Regions from separate parts of the Homo sapiens genome. Here all the other regions are linked to region 1. Evidence: promoter capture Hi-C in 16 types of primary human blood cells and fetal thymus (Javierre and others, 2016). All regions are on one chromosome and are shown on one strand. The core of a region is centred on a gene start or on the middle of the fragment in contact, and the rest is flanking DNA. Distances in the headings are between cores, read along the strand shown.

What was found. Contacts are between HindIII fragments. The CHiCAGO score rates a contact against its expected background, and 5 or more counts as called.
Region 2: a fragment that was not itself captured here is called in contact with the fragment with the promoter of PLSCR5 in region 1 in 1 of 17 cell types (monocytes); the score reaches 6.2 in monocytes.
Region 3: a contact is called between a fragment that was not itself captured here and the fragment with the promoter of PLSCR5 in region 1, in 3 of 17 cell types (monocytes, total B cells and M2 macrophages). The highest score is 6.1, in monocytes.

The regions. Positions count from the first base shown.
Region 1 is chr3:146,602,461-146,607,383 of GRCh38, forward strand. It overlaps PLSCR5 (phospholipid scramblase family member 5), which reads right to left and starts at 2,886. Exons shown (of 8, transcript NM_001085420.2): 1 at 2,740-2,886. The coding sequence starts at 2,752. The HindIII fragment of the contact is 8,012 bases long and covers 916-4,923 here.
Region 2 is chr3:146,035,761-146,040,683 of GRCh38, forward strand. No RefSeq gene overlaps it. Among named protein-coding and RNA genes, the nearest start is that of LNCSRLR, 31 kb to the right of the region's middle. The HindIII fragment of the contact is 550 bases long and covers 2,435-2,984 here.
Region 3 is chr3:146,077,891-146,082,813 of GRCh38, forward strand. It overlaps PLOD2 (procollagen-lysine,2-oxoglutarate 5-dioxygenase 2), which reads right to left. Exons shown (of 20, transcript NM_182943.3): 12 at 3,848-3,973; 13 at 1,226-1,367; 14 at 1-34. Among named protein-coding and RNA genes, the nearest start is that of LNCSRLR, 11 kb to the left of the region's middle. The HindIII fragment of the contact is 291 bases long and covers 2,697-2,987 here.

The DNA.
Region 1 (4,923 bases), core at 1,636-4,135:
AAGGGAGGATGCATGGCTATTGGCTAGAAAGAGAACATTATAGAATCTAGAAATGTCTATATCTTGATCTTGGTGGTGGTCATGAATGGGTCCTTATTTTAAAAATCATGGAGCCTAGGTTTTGTGCTCTATGTACTTCACTGCACATATTATCTCTCAATTAAAAACCATGTGTAGGGATTAATTTCTAACAATAGCTAGTATAAGATTTTTAGATTCTCTCTCATTGTAAACTTAATTGTTAAAGGGATTCACAAATTACCCCAATTTTATCTTGTAAATTATGTTTGCTGTAACAAAATGCAGTAGGTTATGGAGGGTTTGGCAAGTAGCTGTACATTCCCGCCCAGTCCTGGAGGGCCTTAGACTTCACAGCAAGTCCAGAAGCATTAATGCACTTGGAGCTCAGAGGATATTGTGTCCAAAGTCTTTATTTAGGAGTAGAGTGTGAGTGAGTCTCTGCCTGAGACTGTTGAGAGACATCACTATTCTGAGATCACTAGCTGCTTCTTCTGGGATTTTAGTTCACATTGAAGCAACCTTTGGAGACAGCTCTTGCTCAGTTCAGATCACCGTGTTTGAGAGCAACTTGCTCTTAAATTGTGTTAATTTCTACTAAGCCAGGATGCTCCAGCTCACACAAATGTCTCTTCAGTTCTAATGGCACCTGGTATTTAGACTGTCTTTTGGTTTAGTAGTGCTGATTGATCTGCCTATGAAATATGTGAAATGTACAATTAGTCTGCATTCCCTGGGAAAATGCTAATTGCCAATATAGTTACTGGACAAGAAAACATGATGTTATAAATAATGTGTTTATATACAGCTGAAGAAAACTATCCACAAAAATGTTTTACTTAGATAATGGTGATAATTTGACTTGCCCTCTTAAACAAGATATCTAATTCACAAGAAAGCTTCATTATCACTTATATTCTCCTAGGTAGTATGAAGTCTCTAATAGGTGTTTTATCCTTCCATGCATTAAATATTTTGAGCCGGTTGCAGAAGGAGGGTCAGTTTTCCACCTGAAGTTTTGCTTCTAAGTTTAGACTTGGGTCTTTATCATTATGGAACATCACTGCTTCCTGTTAGATTAATCATATTTTGACATAATATTACTTTCCAGTCACAAGTTTCTTCAAAGACTCAGACAACCAGATGAAGAAGGAACTCCTTTGAATTTCGTACTGGCTTTGAATTTCTATCTACTCTTTTAAAAATGTATAACTAGCTTATAAATATTTTATACACTCTGCAACTTTTTACCTTACAGTCTACAGTATTGCTGTAACTCTTATTTTATAAAGTGATGAAGTATTTTGGACTAAATAGTAGTGTCAGTCTTAAATGAAAGGAAATATTTGTCAAGGTTTTTTGTTTATTTGTCTTCAGATAGAAAAAAATGACACATATGTTAAATTCATGATTTTGCTATTTCACATCTATGTTTTACAATTTGTGTGAGCTTTCTCAGTGATTCTGAGGGACTGAGGGACTGGTCTACATTAAAGATTGATAAAAAATGGAAAGATTATCTCATTTGTTTCATATTAAATAGTGACCAAAAGTGTGTTTTGATAAAGGAAGCAAGTAAGCATACACATTTGTTTGAATGGATCACTAATTTAGGATATTACAAATTGATGAGCCCTATTATCCTATTTGTAATTAATTTAAAAGGTTTTCACCAATTATACTAATTATAATTCTTCATGCTAAAACTTTTCATTATAGCCTAGGCTTTAGTGGTTCATTCTGACAATGAAATGAAAGCACATTATAATTTTATTTCTTACACAGTTTCACAAGTGTTTTTAGTGAGATTGCAACTTACTTTAAAAACAACTACATCTCTTGTCTTTTTAGACCTTCTTTAAAGTAAGATAACGTAATGATATTTTTGCAGTTTTAGGAATTTGAGAAAAAACTCATCAGTCCTACTCCCCAAAAGTCTGCTAAGTGATCTGTGCGCTTAAAGCAGATATTTTCTGTTTGTTTTCTATCTTTAATTTACCATAAGGAAATTTCAAGATATTTTTGCTTTATAATTCAGAAATACTTATTTCTAGCCCATCACATTTAAGAATCAATAATAACGCATGTCAGATTCTTTATAATAAATGGCTATATCACATAATTTGAATAACAAATGGGAAAATAAAACTTAGAGAGTGTAACTGGATTGTCTGTAACTCAAAGGCTGAATGCTTGATGGGATGGATATCCCATTCCCCTTTATGTCCTTAATTCACATTGCCTGCTTGTATGAAGACATCTCATGTATCCCATAAGTATATATACCTACTATGTACCCACATAAATTTTTAATATTTTAATTAAAAAAATTATTAAATTGCACTTTAACACTTTCTAACTTATGTGTGAAAAGTTTTCTTCAAATCCTTTTAAACTTAAAATATCACCCTGTCCTTGTGTTTAACATTGAAGATTCCCATTCTAAACTTTGCTATGCAGCTTTTCTTATTAATTCACTATGTTTGTATTCATGATAACTAAAACATCGTTTACATCTGAACTTTTACAGTCTGTCAGATAAAGTGTTTTTACATGTAACTCAACATGCTCCTGGGAGTTAAGATTTTAAAATCACAATGTTCAAAAGTGACAAATGACAGCTTTTAAAGTACCAATCTAACTGGTTGTAACACATCCACAATTGTATATTTTTAGTCTTAATATAAGAAAAAGTTATTAGTTGGTTATATTTACTCTTACCTTTAGAGGCCATGAAGATGTCTGAGTCACTTCTTCAAAGGTTGCCAGGTTGGAAAACAAAGGCTTTTCTTGTTGCAGCAAGGAGAGAAAACGCAGCATGCACAAAACTTCAGAACGTGTTTGTCTGCCTCTTGTCAGCTTACATATAACAGAGGAAGGGAGTCCCTTGCTGTTTCTAGACTTCTGGACTTTATCAGTTTGGACAACAGAGTGAGATGAAACTGTCACAAAAGTAAACGCTGTTCAGAAACCATCATATAACTTTGGTGGCTGAAGGAACAATTTAAAAATAATAAAAACCAGAAAGGAAAGCACACAGCACTCATTTTAAGTGTCTTTTTTTTTTTTACCAAGTTGTTTTTGTATTTCTTAGAATATACACATTTGCATTCAGTCTTATATCAGAAATATCCTGTATTTCTCAATTTCTAGAAGTCTCCTTTCCAGATTCTGTGATAAAACATCCTATTGTATAAATTTTTGATAGTTCTAAATACAATTCTTTACATGTTGAAAATGTTTGAACATTATTATTGTTATTTTTCTATTGGATTTATCTCCATCTCTTCAACTCAAAATAAATAAGAAGAGGATATATTCCCTACTATTATATAAATAAATCTTTATTTTCATTTTTAATTGAATTTGATTAATCAGAGGCATTGGAATATACAAACCTTCAATAGCCTTGCAAAGCTAATCAAAATTTACAGATGATATTTAACTGCATTGAATTCTAAGGAAAGAAAACAAGTGCTGTAACCTTGACTGGACAGCTCCTATTTCTAAATGCAGCTACCCAGGTGACCATGGAGATTTTGCTCACCAAGTCAATTGCCCTACATGGTATGATTCACAAAGGTTGAACATGCAGGATATATTGCATTATCAGCAACACTGTCTTTTTCTGAAAATAGTTAAGAGGCTTCAGGAGGTATACCTTGTGATGAAAAATTATAAAGTCAACCTCACAGTTTGCAGACTGCCAAAAGTTTGAGTTTTCCTTATTTGACAAAGAGGAGTGGTTTTGTTGTTGTAGTTTTCTTAGTGTTTGGAGTTGAAAAAAGCTACCATTATTTAAGTTGTCGTTTTGCAGAAAAGATGTGTGAATATGATTAATATTTTTAAATTAAACTGTATGTTTCCTAAGTTTTTTCTAATGTTTGTCGTGAGCATTTAGAAAAACTTTAATACAAAAAATTAAGTTATTAACACTATCAAAGAAGATTAAAAAAATTTTTTTTATTATACTCTAAGTTCTACGGTACATGTGCACAACGTGCAGGTTTGTTACATATGTATACATCTGCCATGTTGGTGTGCTGCACCCATTAACTCATCATTTACATTAGGTACATCTCCTAATGCTATCCCTCCCCTCTCCCCCCACCCCACAACAGGCCCCGGTGTGTGATGTTCCCCTTCCTGTGTCCATGTGTTCTCACTGTTCAATTCCCACCTGTGAGTGAGAACATGCGATGTTTGGTTTTCGGTCCTTGCGATAGTTTGCTGAGAATGATGGTTTCCAGCTTCATCCATATCCCTACAAAGGACATGTACTCATCATTTTTTATGGCTGCATAGTATTCCATGGTGCATATGTGCCACATTTTCTTAATCCAGTCTATCATTGTTGGACATTTGGGTTGGTTCCAAGTCTTTGTATTGTGAGTAGTGCGCAATAAACATACGTGTGCATGTGTCTTTGCTCAGCAAAAGGAACTACCATCAGAGTGAACAGGCAACCTACAGGATGGGAGAAAATTTTTGCAATCTACTCATCTGACAAAGGGCTAATGTCCAGAATCTACAAAGAACTCAAACAAATTTACAAGAAAAAAACAAGCAACCCCATCAAAAAGTGGGTGAAGGATATGAACAGACACTTCTCAAAAGAAGACATTTACGCAGCCAACAGACACATGAAAAAATGCTCATCATCACTGGTCATCAGAGAAATGCAAATTGAAACCACAATGAGATATCATCTCACACCAGTTAGAATGGTGATCATTAAAAAGTCAGGAAACAACAGGTGCTGGAGAGGATGTGGAGAAATAAGAACACTTTTACACTGTTGGTGGGACTGTAAACTAGTTCAACCATTGTGGAAGACAGTGTGGCAATTCCTCAGGGATCTAGAACTAGAAATACCATTTGACCCAGCCATCCCATTACTGGGTA
Region 2 (4,923 bases), core at 1,460-3,959, 570 kb before region 1:
TAACTGTAAAACAGCCTCAGGCAGGTCCTTCAGAAGATATTCCAGAAGAAGTCATTGTTATCATACGAGAGGACAGACCCATGCATGTTATCGACCCTGAAGACCTTCCAGTGGGACAAGATGTGGAAGTGGAAGACAGTGATATTCATGATTATGACCCTGTGTAGGCCTAAACTAATGTGTGTGTTTGTGTCTTAGTTTAGTTTTTAATAAAAATTCAAAAAGTAAAATTTAAGTTAATTAATTAAAAAAAACAGCTTATAGATTAAGGATATAAAGAAAGAAAATGTTTTTGCACAGCTGTACAATGTGTTTGAGTTTTAAGCTATGTGTGATTACAAAAGTGTCCAAAGATTTTTAAAAATTAAAAGTTTATGAGGTAAAAACGTTAGAGTAACCTAAGTTTAATTTATTATTGGAGAAAAAACTTTTAAATTTAGTGTAGCCTATGTGCACAGTGTTTACAAAGTCTACAACAGTGTACAATAATGTTTTGGCCTTCACATTCACTTACCACTCACTGGCTCACCCAAATCAACTTCTAGTACTATAAACTTCATTCATGGGAGGTACCCTATGCAAGTGTACCTTTTTTATCTTTTATACCATATTTTTACTGTATCTCTTCTATGTTTAGATATGCAAATACTTACCACTGTAATACATTTCCCCATAGTATTCAGTACAGTAATATGCTGAACAGGTTTGCAGCCTAGACGTAATAGGCCACACCACATAGTCTGAGTGTGTAGTAGGATATACCATCTAGGTTTATGTATGATGTCCACACAAAAATGAGTCACTCAACAAGACATTTCTAAGAAGGTATCACTGTCATTGAGACACCTGACTGTACTGTAAATATGGCTTAAAAGGTATTTTGTAGTAAAGAGATCCCTCAAAACACCTTCAATCATACAGAGGAAAAGGAAGTTTTAACAAAGTATTTGAAAAGTAGTTATGTAATCATATTAAAAAAAAAGTTTTAAGACAGTATTTGAAAATAGTTATGTAAAATAAGTTTGCAGCTTCTTCAGTGTCAAAGCTCACTTATAATCACCCAACACCATATAAGTCTATTTTATACCCTAAAATTGGCTTCATGAATTTCTAGAGAAATCTCACACAATCATGATTATTGTGTGAATCATTACTAATATAAACTATAAATATTGAAATTATGTCTGCTTTCATACCAAAGATGTTTACTATTTACATACAAGAGGGAGTTGGAAAATATTTGTTAATACTGGAAAAGAATTGGTGATCCCTGGAAGCCCAGAGGCCTAGTTTCCTCTCGGGGGCTGATGTGATTATTGTCATCAGCAGTCTCCTCCAAAGGCTAAGAGGTTTTGGTAAAGGCAATAATGAGCTATGCATACATGGAAAATTCTTTCATGTGCTTTCAACCAACAGAATTTAATTAAATATGGTTCATATGTTTTGTATTTTTAAGCCAAATCTTCATAGTTGTATAATGTTACTGACAGCATCAGCAGACAAGACACAAAAGTTTTGGGAACAGGAAGTGTAGTAATTATAATTGAAATTGAGAAATAAAAAGAAAGGTCAAAGTAACAAGAAAATGGGGTTGAATTATTTTTCTCTACTAGTGTTATTTCTTGAAGATTCTGCTTTTCAATAATCAAATTCACTTCTAGAAGTATTATTACCATAGAAGAAATAATACATTACTGTATTTCAAAATGCAGAATATCTTATACCTCTCTAGAGAAGTCCTTTTTTTTTCTTTTTTTTTTTTTTTTTTTTGAGACAACAGTCCTGCTCTGTTGCCCAGGCTGTAGTGCAGTGGCACAATCTCAGCTCACCACAACTTCTGCCTTCCAGGTTCAAGCCATTCTTCTGCCTCAGCCTCCCAAGTAGCTGGGATTACAGGTTCGCACCACCATGCCTGGCTAATTTTTGTATTTTTAGTAGAGATGGGGTTTCACCATGTTGGTTAGGCTGGTGTCGAACTCCTGACCTCAAGTGATCTGCCTGCCTCGGCCTCCCAAATTGTTGGGATTACAGGTGTGAGCCATCGTGCCCGGCTAGTCCTTTCCTTTTGCTTGCATTCCTGTAAGAGAGCCTAAGCCTCAGCCTGTGTAGGAGCACAGAACTTTTTAAGATGACTCATATACATGAGGCCCTCCCCTCAGCTGTTCCATCATTGAGAAACTTGTTTCTCCATCCTACATTTTCTCAGCTTCTGTTATTAACCCTGATCCCATGGAGATGGAGACAGCTTCATTTCATTTCAGGCTCTAAAAGTCTTCCTGAGCTAGGGGGTCTCATCTAAGCCCGTGGCAGTAAATACCACATTTACACTAACAATTCCTACATCTATCTCTTTTTAGGTATAACCTCTCTGCTGACCTTAAGCCTCACACATCTAACTGCCTCTAAGGCACCTCAAATTCACCATACCCAGATAAGCTTATCATCTTCCCCTGAACACAAACATGCTTTTATCACAGTAGTAGAACTACTATGCACCCAGTTTCCCAAGACAGAAACCTAGTAAGTGTTGGCTCATCTCTCTCCCTCTCCATCTTCTCTCTATATTCAATCAATCATGCATTTCAGTTTTATTCAGCAATCTCATTTGCCTAAAATTTACCAGATTTTCTTCATACTCAAATTGGAGGACACCATACGTTTCCTGGATTATTGTCATATCTTCTTAACTGAGATAGCTTCGCCATTTTCAACCCTACACAATGAATTTGTTTCTTAGGGAGACTGATCCTTAGAAAATGTAATGCTGACCGCACTCATCTGGTAAAGCACTTCAATAACTCCCCATTGCTCTTAAGGTGAAGTCTAAGCCCTACATGGTTTTCCCAGTTTAAGTGTTTCTACTGAGCCTTCAGCTTCGGCTTCCCATGGACTACTTCCTCATTTCACTCCATTTGTTCCCTTCTCCCAACCTTAATTGTCTAATTTATTCATCAGAACTCAGCTTAGATATCACTTCCCTTGAAAGCTTTCTTCGACATTTCCTAAGTGCTTCACTGGCATAAAGTATTTTCCCTATCTTGGCACTTATAGCACTATAATGCAATTACATGTTTCTTTATTCAACAAAGATTTATTGAGTGTCTATTATATATGCCAAGTGTTGTTTTAGATGCTGGAAGTATGGTAGCGAACAAAACAGACAAGTTGTCACTCTCATGGGTTTATATTTCAACAAACACTATTGAATTAAGAAAGAAATACATGTTGGAGAGTAAGTGTCATGAAGTATGGAGAGGATAATGTGATAGAGTGTGACTGGGGCAAGAAGAAATCTTTAGTTCAAAGTGATGAGGGAAGGCTTCTCTGATAAGCCAACAGGGGAGCTGAGACACGAAAGTGAGAAAACAAGTCCTGTGAGTTTCTGAGGAAGAGGATTCCAAGCAGTAGAATACACACAAACACACTAAGATGGAAATGATCTTGGCATAATCCCGGACATGGAAAAGACAAGCAAGAGAAAGACTGATAGAATGAGGGCAAAGTGGTGAAGTGAGTGGCACAGTGGCACAATCATGGGGGACATGGACGCTCTGATGTAGACTTGGGGTTTAATTCTGCCTGGAATAGAAGCCATGGAGAGATGTGAATAGAGCTGTGATATGAACCAACTTAGAAGGATCACTCTGTCTGCTGTGTGGATAAAAGACTATAAGAAATAAGGTGGAGAAAGAGACCATTTAGAAGACTGTAGCAGTCAATAGTTCTGGCAAGAGATGATAGTGCCTGGGACTACTGTGCATATTAGATACTGTAGGAACTAGATGTTTTTGGAACATACTTTAAAAGTAAAGTGCAGATGAATTGAATATAGGATATGAGAGAAAGAAAGTAGTCAAGGATCATACCATATATTTTTGTCTGAGCAAGTAGTAAACTACAGTGATCATTATAGTATCCTCCTTTATCCACAGGTGATATGTTCCAAGACCCCCCAGTGAATATCTGAAAATGAATACTACCAGAATCTATACTATGTTTTCTCCTGTACATATATACGTATGATAAAGTTTAATTTATAAATTAGGTAAAGTAAGATATTAATAACAATAATAATAAGAGAACAAGTATAATAATATAGTGTAATGAAAGTTATATTAATGTGCTATCTCCCTGTCTCTCAACATATCTTATTTTGCTGTACTAACCCTTATGATGATGATGTGAAATGATACAATGCCTATGTATGTGATGAGCTGAAGTGAGGTGAATGGCAGGCATTTTGATGGAGCATTAGGCTGCTATTGAGCTTCTAATAAGTCAGAAAGAAGATCATCTGCTTCTGGTGATCTTGGATCATTCAGCCATGATTGGATGCCTGGAGCAGACAATGTGATGGTAGAGGATTCCATAATTGAAGTTTTTTGCCAAAATGTTTTGGAATAACATTATAACCATAATAAAAATTTGTTGTCTCTTTCTTTTTAACTCATCAAAGTGTTGCTGCCGAGGTTGTAATCCTTTGGTAATCATAATCATATGAGTGACTTTAATGCTGCATTTGATCCAAGGATTATATTCCATAATTTTGTCCTTTAATGTCTTTGCAGCTGAAAACATGTCAGCAAATTTTCGTAATGTCCACATTGCTGATTCTGCTTCTGTTTTTTATTCTTCTTCGTATCCCTATTCCTCTGTAGATGATTCAACAAGTTCTTCCAATTTCTTATTTGTTAATACTTCTTGATGGCCTTCAAAATGTTCTTCCACCTGAGCAAGTATGTTGGCAAATCCTTCTCCTTTGCTGCAGGAATTATTTTCCTAACTTTGCCATCAACCTTCAGGAAGCTTTCACAATTTCACTCCATATGTTCTTTCAGCAGACATTTGCAGTTTTGGTTTTAATTCACCAATTACAACTTGATTAATATTATTGTGACAGCAATAGTGAGTGATTTCCAGCAC
Region 3 (4,923 bases), core at 1,592-4,091, 520 kb before region 1:
CCGGAGTAGGGGAGTCTTTTTCCCTTTGTAAAGTCTAAAATGAAGAGAAGCATTGGGTAAGTTGACCTGTACACCCGCTCTCTCAGGTATTCTTTGGTAAATAAAAATAATAGCAGCTGTTGATCAAAAGCTAACATTCTGAAATGTCCTTCATAGACAACATGCAGAACAAGCAAAGCTTATAGCACACACAAAGAAACATCTCCAGCTCTTTCAGCCCTTCTTTTCTTTTCTTTTTGGGAGGTGTGGTGGGGTCAAACATAAGTCTAAGCTCATTCCTTAGCAGAACTTTCATTAGACACATAAGACAACGGAAAAAATGAGTAAGAGAGGCCATTCCATGATGCGCTGTTGAGTCAAATTAGCCAAACATGAGCACAAAATACTATCACAAGTACTGAGGATATTCAATAATAATGCACACAGGTTTGTAGAGAAAACAAACATATTCAAACAATACATGCTTTGTTAAACTAAGAAAAAAATACTTGCCAACTTTTCTGACTTTTCATCAAATCACAATTGCTTATATAAATTTGGAAATCGGAAATAAAATAGCCCCATCATTTCTAAAACCAAAAATCATATCAATATATTCTAAGCCATGTTTATGCATTTTGAAAAATTATTTTCTAGTCATTTTAAGTTTTATAATAAAAGTACATTTGTAGTGCAGCAAGGTATCATTAGTATTTTATTTAGAGTAAATACACTATGTATCTCAACACTTCTACTAGTTTGGTGGTAATAATCCTGCTTTCTAAGAATGTGAAGTTAATAATAATTTTAAAATTTTACCTAGTTAGAGAAAATGTGGACATTAATTTTAGAACAAAAATATTCTTAAATCTGGAAATATTGTTTCATCGAAGCTTATCTAATTAATTTTAATTAGGTCAAGTTTTCACTATAGAATTTCAAATTAAAGATGTATTCTTAAAAGAGCAAAGCTGATTTGTAACAAATACATCTTTATTACTGAAATCCAACTCGGTTGCCTATGAATTAGCCCGAGCACAAAAACTAACATTTTTCATACCATTTCTATAAGTAAATGTTAAATTATCTCCAAAATTACTCCCAAATTTTTTAACACAGAACCAAAAAAATTGGCTAGTACTTACAAATTAGCAAGACAAAGGGCATCAAAACACAGTGACACACCAACTGGTAAAGCAAGCCATCTTATAAGAACATTCAAGCAAGCCATCACTGCATATCTTACCATTTCTCTAGCATTTCGGCAAAGAGCCATATCAGGATCCAGTTTATCACGAACAAAATAGTTCCTTTCATTCATCTCTGATCGGAGTGTCTTTCCTTTAATTAAGTACACATTAGCCATATATGGGACATTCCATACTCCTCTGAAAGTAAAGAGAAGACATTCTTATATACCACAAATACAAACAATTTTAAGTTTCATTTTTACCTTTTTAAAATAAATGCTTTGTGTTTAGATTTTGTATACATAAATTATTGAATCAACATACAAATATATTCAATGATATATATATAAGATTACATTGTATACACTATATTTAATGAGATTTAGGAGATAAACCACTGCCCCTTTGGATACATTTCAATTTTGGGTTGGTATCTGTTTGGCATTTGTATTATAGCTATCATATCTCAATCAGTTGTTACAATTAGACTATTATAATCTATTGTATAGACGGTGTTTCTATTTAAAATTAAAGAATTTGATAGCATGAATCATAACATACAACCAGTGGTGCACTAGACCCAGCTCATACTGGCTCCCCAAAGTTAACTTTTTCTGCCAAGTCCATGTTCAGTAATTTCACATTGGAAACTTGAAATCAGCCATGGTAGAAGTATTTACACCAAACAAATGGGCAAGCACTTTAAATCAGGGAATCCTCCACCTCCAAAAGCCAGTTGTTACACATTTACCAAAATACCACTGAATATAGCCTAAAATTCTCCAAAATTATATTCTCTTACCATTCATTAAGCCATCTTAAATATTTTATAGAAAAAGGAAAACATGAAGAAATACAGCTGGGAGCACATGAACGTTGCATCCTTTCCCACATCTATATTCTCACTCTGAACATGACTGATTTCATAAAAACTGCAAAACAAGTTTTGCCCCTAAGACTGTGCGCCTTTCTTTTAGAGAACATCAAGGCAAGATCTTGACCAAGAAATGCAGTTAGATATTAACGGAAATATGATATTATGTCTTACTAGACTAGCCTCAAAGAAAAATGCCTTAAGGAGTACAGCAGTCCCCGCCTTATGTGAGGGTGATACATTCCATGACCCCAGTGGATGCTTGAAAGCAGATAGTAACAAACGCTACACATACACTACGTTTTTTCCTACACATATATACTTATAATAAAGTTTAATTTATACATAAAGTACAGTAAGACTAACAACAATAATAGAACAACTATAACAATATGCTGTAATAAAAGTTACATGAATGTTTACACTTTCTCTATCTCAACATATCTTCGTATTTTCAATCCACAGTAGACTTGAAACCATGGAAAGCAAAACCATAGATAAAGGGGAATTACTGTATACAACGTGTCAGCTAAATTCAGAAATTAATCTCTGGGGAATTATTCAGTGTTTCAACTTATACACACACACATACACACACACACACAGTTGCTCCTTCGTGTAGCTTTTGGACATGAAGTGTATTCCAGATCAAAAGCTTCTGCCATATTTTTTTCCTTATACTTTAGACAAGAATGACAGGAGGTTGGACAGAAAATCACCAATGCCTAAAGCAACTTGAAACAAATTTTCCATTCTACTTTCACAAACCCTCATTTGTGATGTGCCCAAAGATACAATCAGGTATATTGTCTATACAACTCACCCAGAGTCAATACAACTGCACAGAAACAACAGAATACGATCTTAATAGTCTTTTCTCCTCCACTGTGCATTTTAATTGCAGCTAACAAAAACCTTTATTGTATTTACATCATTCAGATTGAAGCTTTCCACACCAATTACTATTTCCACAAGCAACACATCTTTTTACCACTCAACTGTTTGAACAGAAACGTGTGCCTTTTTTTTTCTAAATGTAAGGGCACATCCTTTTAGTCCTGAGAGTATACTGCCCCTTTTTAATCAGGCTGACATGTTTGAGAACTAAGGCAAAGCATGTAATGTCTTAGTCACTCTGGTCCATCATATGTATGAAAAAAAGAATGACATTCTTCTCCAATATTACCTTAGCAAAACTATTTCAATTGTGATTATTTTTAGTAATCAACCATTGTCTCTGAAATAAATATAAATCATGCACACACTTTTCAGCAAATATATTCTTTTCAATCTCTAGAAGTGAAAATCTAATATTGGTAAAAAAAACTTGTATTTAAAGCAGAATAATAGCTATTTCACACAAAAAAACTCATGCAATCAGGAATACTGGAATGTTCTGGCTGTTAGTGTTACTGTTGGCTTAATTATAAATTTTAAAACCTATCAAAACAACCCTTAATTATAACCATTAAAAAGTTAGTAAACTAAATCCCCTTTCCAAGCTTTTAAATAAAGAGTATTACTCTTCTATCAACCATAATGTGAGTATGGTAAACATATATTATCTCTTAGTATTCCCCACAGCAATGAGCTTGTTCCTTTGAAGATTTGGGACTTTAAAAACATTTTTTTAAGATATTAGTTTTATACTAGTATTTCAGGATTCCAAGTGGTCTTGGGTTCTCAAATTCCCATTAACTATAAAGAAAAGAGATGAATGCAAAAAAAATTTCAAGTAATACTAACAAGACTACATCTTTAGATTATGGTATTTCACATTAAAATATTAAACCAAGTAACTTACACTCTATTCCCTTGAACAATATCCACATAATCTTCAGATCGTGCATAGTATCCATCAGGACTCAATGCTCCCCAGAAATTGGACCACAGCTTTCCATGACGAGTTACAAGAGGAGCAATGATCTTTCTAAAGACAGAGAGAGTGTGTGTGAGAGAGAGAAACCTATATAATTATTTATTTTTAAATTACCACAGAATTATGTATTTTGGGCTTAGTATGACATATAACACAAGAAAGCTCATTCAACAAACCTGTAGTTAATAAAAATAAAATAAGGATCTTCTTTCCCAACATCTTTTCTTAAGTAAGTATATTGCTAATTTTCAATCATATTTCTTAAAAAGAGTAACAAAGAAGGAAAAAGTAATTGAAAATGCTAATGAATACATAAAAATGACTTTTAAAAATGCCTTGCTTACATCCAACAGAGGGAAACTACTTTAGTTATTTAATTATATTTAAGTTTAACTAAAGTATTTCGGAACCTATATTAAATGAAACCAAATATTTTCATTGTCACTGGGTGAACAACAGCCCCTGGTGCATTTAAGATATTCAATGAATATTTGTTGAATTTGTAAAAAATGAATGAAGATGAACTGAGATGTTTGTAAACAGGCAAAGCTTTCCTGTAATTAAGTCTCAAATTACTTAAGTATGTTTCCAGTTTTCCATGACTTTAAAAAATGACTTGTGATTACAGTAAGCTAGTCCTGGCAACACTGAACTTTCCTTTAACTATTTTAGAAAGCAAATTTATGGAACAACTATTCTTTATATGAAAAAAGAAAACCTATTTCACCTCTATCTTGTGAAGACCAGCCGGGCCCTTTCTATTACATGCACAAAAGTGAAATAAATAAACACACATCGGGCCCGGCGCAGTGGCTCATGCCTGTAATCCCAGCACTTTGGGAAGCCGAGGCGGGCGGATCACAAGGTCAGGAGTTTGAGACCAGCCTGACCAACATGGTGAAATCCCATCTCTACTAATAATACCAAAAAAAGTTAGCCAGGCATGGTGGCACGCACCTATAATCCCAGCTAATCAAGAGGCTGACACAGGAGAATCGCTT